Regions from separate parts of the Homo sapiens genome. Here region 1 is linked to region 2. The links are contacts of gene promoters, found by promoter capture Hi-C in human tissues and cell types (Jung and others, 2019). All regions are on one chromosome and are shown on one strand. The core of a region is centred on a gene start or on the middle of the fragment in contact, and the rest is flanking DNA. Distances in the headings are between cores, read along the strand shown.

Region 1 (3,698 bases), core at 1,199-3,698, 79 kb after region 2:
CTACTGCACTCTAGCCTGGGTGACAGAGTAAGACTGCCTCAAAAAATATAAACTAATTAAATTAAATATTAAGTATCATTGTCTTATGAAAACAATCAAGAAATTTAAATATAATTTGAAGAGTATAACCTTTCAAGCACAGTTAAAATTAGATACTATCTCAGTTCAATAACACTGACCTCAACTGAGAAAGTAAACATTGAGCACAAGCCTGACCAAAATAAAATAGGTTTATCTCCTGTTGAAATCAGGAATCTGCTTATTTGTTATTATTGCCTTTGGTAAGAGTTTTGATATAGATTATTAACTCATGAACAGTGTTTTAATTGACTTGCTAATGTATAAAACTTTTCATTTATTAGAATCGTTTCTTAAGTTACCTGTAAGGGGAGTAAGCCAATTACTGCTTTTGACTCCTAGTGGTCTTTTCATTTCTCATCTATTTAATTTGTGGATAATGTTTTTCAACCATCCTCTCTTTCTTGGAAAGCTTTCTCCTAGTAATGCCATTTATTGAATACTTACTACTTACTGTGAAAGAAAAGCTTTTCATCATATTTCTCATGTCACTGTGGTAAAAATTGGCAAGAAGTATTATCCATTGGAAATATGGCAATACATTTTCACTTATTTGTTTAATCACCAAAAATTTTATTGAATGACTCATATGTCATAGAAAGAGAGAACAAAAACAATTGTCCCTGCTTTTGAGGTCAATTTATGGTTTAGTGGCATAGGGATGGTTGGAGATGCTGGGAGTAGAAGCCAGAAAGTCAGCAGACCATTTCAGAACAATGTGATATGTGTATAAGTGTGTTCTGAGTAGGAAGGAAACACAGAGGAAAAGCACGTAAATCAGATGGGTGGTGGGAAGGAGCAGTAGGAGAGGGAAGAAGAGATGTTGGGAAAGACTTACAGGAGGTGATAACTCTTTTTTTTGTTGTTTGTTTGTTTGAGATAGAATCTCATTCTGTCACCCAGGCTGCAAAGCAGTGGCGTGATCTTGGCTCACTGCAACCTCCACCTCCCGGATTCAAGCGATTCTGCTTCCTCAGCCTCCCAAGTAGCTGGTATTACATGCACCTGCCACCATCCCCGGCTAATTTTTGTATTTTTGTAGAGACGGGGTTTCACCATGTTGGCCAGGCTGGTCTTGAATTCCTGACCTCAGGTGATCCAACTGCCTTGGCCTCCCAAAGTGCTGGGATTACAGGTGTGAGCCACTGCGCCCCGCCAGGAGGTAATAACTCTTAACTGGAATAAGAGTGAGTTAGTCTGTAAAGAGACAGGTTCTAGGAAAAAAGAACATCAACTGGATGTTCCTAATAATTTCAGTGATGTGCAACTGGAATAACCACAGATGTCTGAAAGCATCCCATCTCCTTTTAATGAACTCCAGTGTTTTAAAACTGAAGTATGAGAGCTGAACATCCAGTTACATGCTTTATTGTTTAAGTTTTCTAAAATTGTGAAATACAGTGTATCCAGAAAATTGTATAAAGCACATATATACAGTTTAACAAGTAGTTTGAAAGCCAACAGTCATGTAATCACCAATAGAACAATATCAGCATCCTGGAAGGCTTCTCTTATGCCTGCCCCTAATCACATGCTGCCCACTTCCCTGTAGTTTTGACATGTATGTATATCCCTAAACAATATATTTTAGTTTTGCCTGTTTTTAAACTCTATTTTATTGGGTTAATATTTTAATGTATTCTTTTGATCAATATAATGTTTGTGAGATTTGTCCATGTTGTTGCATATAGTTTAATCCAGTTCATCCTGATTAATATTTCATTACATGAATATACCACTATTCATTCTATGGGTTAATGCACATTCAAGAGTTCATTATGAACAGTGCTGCTAAAATTCTCCTGGTACTTGTCAGTTATCTTTTTTCAAACAATCTACTGTTATCCACTATACGTATGGGAATTATACGTATGAAATTCATATGTATTTTTAATTATAAAGTATGTTAATGCTACGCTTTTTCAAGCTGCTGATGATCCTCCATCAAGTATAGTTCATCTTTATTAGCAATAGGAGATTAGAAGTAAAAGCTTCTTTAAAGCTGGTAAAAAAAATTCACTAATCAAAAAGTTTTTTTTTGTTTTTTTTTTGAGACAGAGTTTCGCTCTTGTTACCTAAGCTAGAGTGTAGTGGCACGATCTTGGCTCACCGCAACCTCTGCCTCCCGCGTTCAATTCTCCTGTGTCAGCCTCCCAAGTAGCTGGGATTACAGGCATGCACCACCACGCCCGGCTAATTTTTTGTATTTTTAGTAGAAACGGGGTTTTACCACGTTAGCCAGGCTGGTGTCGAACTCCTGACCTCAGGTGATCCGCCTGCCTCGACCTCCCAAAGTGCTGGGATTACAGATGTGAGCCACCACGCCCAGCCCAAAAAGGTTTTTAAAATCAGTCACAGTCAGTCAGTGTCCAACTTGTTGATTATTGGCTATGAATGAAGAAAATTGGCCGCCTTAAAAAGTGACTCAATCCTAAAGCATTTTATTATAATTAAAATATTAATAGCAGGCCGAGCAAAGAACAAGACCTTGTCTTAAAAAAAAAAATTAAAAGTCTAATTTAAGTTACTACCTGGTCTTTCCTTTTAGTTTCCTAATCGCGCAAAATGAACAATAAGTCTCCCAGTAGCTACTGCGATTGTGAATAGGGCAACTGTATCAGAAGGGCTTGTTTGTCAGGTTTTTTTCTTTAAACATAAGCTGTTAAAAAAATTAACTTTTGTTTTTTATTATATCCAGGCATATTAACCCCAAATAACTATTTACTATTGGTATAAAAGGAAATAAACTGGAAGACCAAAGACCTGTTTTAATAGTAGGAAAATATAGCTTAAGCTATTTCATTAAGATCTTCTCCCTAATTCTTCCAATCCCCAAATGCACACAGTACTCTCCCAAAATATAAAATATCTAGTATTGATATTGAGACAAAGCTGCCCACTTGAATTTGGGATTTTGGCTGTAACCACTGTGCCTATAAACTTGCTGTCAGCCATTTCATCACTTTTGCCTCCATATTTTGTTTGTATAATTTATTTTCAAAACATTTTGCAGTTTCTATTGTTTAATCCTGCAAGGCAGGTATCATTCTCTTTATAGGAGTCAAAGTTAAATGATCATTTGGGCAATAAATTGTGGAATTTACATTCAAACTGACTCTGCAACTGGGCGTGGTGTTTCACTGCCTGTATTCCCAGCAGTTTGGGAGGCCAAAATGGGAGGATTACTTCAGGCCAGGAGTTCAAGACAAGCCAGGGCAACAAAATGAGACCCAATCTCTACAAAAAAATGAAAACAGCCCTGCGTGAACCTATAGTCCCAGCTACTCAGGAGGTTGAGGTGAGAGGATCACTTGAGCCCAGGAGTTCGAAGCTGCATTGAGCTATGATCACACCACTGTGCTCCAGCCTGGGCCACAGAGCACGACTCTGTCTCAAAACAGGAAAAACAAAACAAAAACAAATATCTGACTTTGCAGTTTAAAAAGGACATGCTGGCTGGGTGCGGTAGCTCACGCCTGTAATCCTAGCACTTTGGGAGGCCAAGGCAGGCAGATCATGAGGTTAGGAATTCAAGACCAGCCTGGCCAATATGGTAAAACCCCATCTTTACTAAAAATACAAAAATTAGCCGGGTGTGGTGGCACGCACCTGTAATCTCA
Region 2 (3,952 bases), core at 1,453-3,952:
AAGAAAATTATTGTTCATTTATTTTAGATGTGATGATGGTATTGTGGTATTATATTTGTTTAATAGTCTCTGTCTTTTAAAGACACACACAGGGACATTTACGTATGAAATGACAGAATGTCTAGAATTTATTTAATATAATTCAGGTAGTGAGAGTGGGAATATAAATAAAATAAGATTGGCCATGTACTGATCATTGTTGAAACAAGACAATGGTTTCACGGCAGCTCATTTTACTACTATTTTTACTTTTACATGTGTTTTAAATTTTCCATAAGCAGTATCTTTTTAAAAAAAACTGTATGGCTACAAACACAAACATGTCTACTACAGCTGAGATGAATCAACATTATAATGATGTTACTTCTCCCTAAATTTATGCATATATTCAAATAAAAACTCTAATAGCCAGATGTGGGGGCTCATGCCTGTAATCCCAGCACTTCAGGAGGCCAAGGTGGGCAGATTGCTTGAGCCCAGGAGTTTGAGGCCAGCCTGGGCAACATGGTGAAACCCCTTATCTACAAAAAACAAAAAACAAAATCAGCCAGGCATGGTGGTGTGCACCTGTAGTCCCAGCCACTCCAGAGGCTGAGGCGGGAGGATCACTTGAGCCCAGGAGGTCAAGGCTGCAGTGAGCCATGATTGCATCACTGCACTCCAGCCTGGGTGACAGAATGAAACCCTGTCTCCAAAAGAAAAAAGCAAAAAACTCCAACAGAGTTTTTCAGGGAACTTGATAAACTGATTCAAAAAATTCATATAAAGAAGAGTTAACAAGTACAAAATACAAAGACAATGTTTAAAAAGAAGAACAAAGATAGGGTGGCCTAGATGACTTGCCTTACCATACGTGGAGACATATTACAAAGCTGTTTTAATTAAAACTGTGTGATACTGAAGTAGCAAAAGATAAAAAGAACAGCTTCATGAGCTCAGAAACTGACCTATCTATGTATGAGAATTTGGTGTACAATAGAGGTAGAATCAAAATTGGAAAACAAAGAAAATAAGCTCCCTACGTCATACCATACACAAAACTAAATTCCAGGTGAATTAAACACCTAAAAGCAGTAGCCATAGAAAAGATAAATAAAACACTCTCTGAAAGTATAAAAATAAGATGAGTGTATCTTTATTACATTTGGATGAGGAAAATTTTCTTATACAAAAACAGTATAGATTGATTATACGGAAAAGCTGAATAAAATGTTCTACCTCAACATAAAAAAATTTCATATAGAAAAACTCACTATAAACAAGACTAAAGGACAAGTGGAATTTCATAGGCTTATGCAAAGGAAGAAAAAATAAAATAAAAGACAAGTGGAAGACTAAGGGAGGATGTTTTTAAGGGTATATAACTGTCAAAGATTAGAAGCCAGAATATATTTTTAAAACACATACACCTTGGCCGGGCACGGTGGCTCACACCTGTAATCCCAGCACTTTGGGAGGCTGAGGCGGGTGGATCACGAGGTGAAGAGTTCAAGACCAGCCTGGCCAAGATGGTGAAACCCTGTCTCTACTAAAAATACAAAAATTAGCTGGACATGCTGGCAGGTGCCTGTAATCCCAGCTACTTGGGAGTCTGAGGCAGAGAATCGCTTGAACCTGGGAGGTGGATGTTGCAGTGAGCCAAGATCGCACCAATGCACTCCAGCATGGGAGACAAAGCACGACTCCGTCTCGGAAAACACACAACACACACACACACACACACCTCCCACAAATCACTAAGAAAATGCAACAATACAATAGAAAAATGAGCAAAAAAGATGAACAGGAAATTCACAGAAAATTCAAACGGTCAATAAATGTGTGAAAAGATCCTCAACCTCATTAGTAATTAGGAAAATGCAAATTTAAAAGATGATAGTTCGTCTTGCTCCCACCCCACCCAGGTAATCATTCTCAATTGGATATATTTGAGTGTATCCTTTTTTCCATGAATATACTAACACATACACACACACACACACACACACACGCATATTACTAAACTATACATATAGTATATATTAATAAAGACATTTTGAGTTTGATGAACGAAGGAATGGCTGAGTGAGAACCAGACAATATCAGATCATGAATGAGTTGTGTTAAAAGCAGTAAGACAGGTTTTCCTAGGAAATCATACAAGGAGCTGGGATTTGGGGAGCTTTATCTAAATCTCTTTATAACTAAATGTTTTCCATGTAAAAGTTGGTGTTTTTAAAATTCAATTTAATTTTTTTTTTGAGATAGGGTCTTGATATGTCATCCAGGCTGAAACACAGTGGCATAATCATGGCTCACTGCAGCCTTGTCCTCCTAGACTCAAGCAATTCTCCCACCTCACCCTCCCCCTCAGCTGGGACTACAAGCATGCACCACCATGCCCAGCTAATTAAAAAAAATTTTTTTGCAGAGACAGGGTCTCACTATATTGCCTAGGCTGGTCTTGAACTCCTGGCCTCAAGTGATCCTCCCGCCTCAGCCTCCCAAAGTGCTGGGATTATAGGCATGAGCCACTGGGCTCAGACAAGGGCTCTTCTTGATGGCTTACTGTATCCACTTTGTCCCCAAGACCATAGGGAAATGACTAGAGGTGACTGTACTAGCTAGATTTTAAATGAAACTGAAATGAAAGTTCACTTCCTCATTTTGAGTACCTCATGTGACAAGTTCCAATTTCTTTTCAAGTCAATTGAACTGAAATCTCCTTGTTGCTTTGAAATCTTAGAAGAGAGCCCACTAATTCAAGGACTCTTACTGTGGGAGCAACTGCTGGTTCTATCACGTATGTACTCTTTGTTCTTTTTCTCCCATTTGGTCTTCAAACACTCTGTGTTTGTAACTTGTTCTGCCTGCTAGGTTTTAAATCTTTGGTTTCAGGAAGTAAACTAAAAAATCGTGTCGTTCAATTTGCCTCTTCTCTATTTTTAAAAAGTTAATGTCTGCTTGAGCATCTAAGCATCTAAGTTGAGACTGAAACATGGCTTTCTTTGGAATATAATTTAAAGGCTTACATGTTTAAAATTCCAGATGTTTTCAATTAAAAAGAAATGGAAAAGAAAGTAGAATCCAGTTTGAGGGAGCTAGTCGCTGAATTTCTGTTGATGTCTCTTGAATTAAATACAGAAGTGGCATTTTAAAGAGTAGTTAATTGCCTCATTTGAAACAGATGTCTGATCATTAAAAAAAAAAAAACGTAAAAAGGAAAATTACCTACCTAAAGATGTGAAAGCAATAGATGAGAATTGTCTTTTAACTATCTGTAAAGACTGTGGATATTTAAACAGGTCAGTTAAGAAGAGCCCATGTATTCAAAAATTCAGGAGATAAACTGATTTTTCAGAGGTTTGTCTCTCTTAAGGATGATTTTTTTTTTTTTTTGAGAGAGAGAGAAAGAGATTTCCTTTGATTAGATTTGTTGGCAAATCCTGGAAAGTCCCTGTTTTCTAACCCTCTAGATGTGTTTGGTTTACCAGATATTGGGAAATTCCTGGAAATCACTTTTTAAAGTGCTACTAAGCATTGGAAGTAGTATTTCTGACATAAATCTGCAGCTGTTCCCTGTGACTATATATCCCAGGAATTTTCCTGTATAATTCTGTTTATAATAGTCTGTCCCTTTGATAGACTTTGCATTGTTATTTTCTCTTATGAAAACATGTGGTCACAACATATGCAGCTAATAGCAACACTTCCTATGTTACCTTTCCTTACACAGAATGAAACGGCTGGTTTGTGTGCTCTTGGTGTGCTCCTCTGCAGTGGCACAGTTGCATAAAGATCCTACCCTGGATCACCACTGGCATCTCTGGAAGAAAACCTATGGCAAACAATACAAGGAAAAGGTAGATTGGATTGCCACTCGAGCGATATGCTTTTAAAGGAGTACTGTTTTCTACCTCTTAAAATTGTGTTCTTACAGGCAGTGTTTTCAGTAAATATTTAAGCTGGGTGT

The links. The method cuts DNA at HindIII sites, captures the fragments that hold promoters and counts their contacts. A contact is called where the count stands out against the background at its distance.
Region 1: a fragment that was not itself captured here is called in contact with the fragment with the promoter of CTSS in region 2 in 2 of the 25 tissues and cell types used here (IMR-90 fibroblasts and liver).

What each region holds. Positions count from the first base shown.
Region 1 is chr1:150,686,007-150,689,704 of GRCh38, reverse strand. The region is part of intron 2 of GOLPH3L (golgi phosphoprotein 3 like); the gene reads left to right. Among named protein-coding and RNA genes, the nearest start is that of GOLPH3L, 9.3 kb to the left of the region's middle. The HindIII fragment of the contact is 5,683 bases long and covers 1-3,698 here.
Region 2 is chr1:150,764,528-150,768,479 of GRCh38, reverse strand. CTSS (cathepsin S) reads left to right here and starts at 2,702. Exons shown (of 8, transcript NM_004079.5): 1 at 2,702-2,782; 2 at 3,716-3,842. The coding sequence starts at 3,717. RefSeq lists cis regulatory regions at 2,756, 2,759 and enhancers at 2,684-2,828, 2,687-2,831, 3,762-3,811. The HindIII fragment of the contact is 11,511 bases long and covers 1-3,952 here.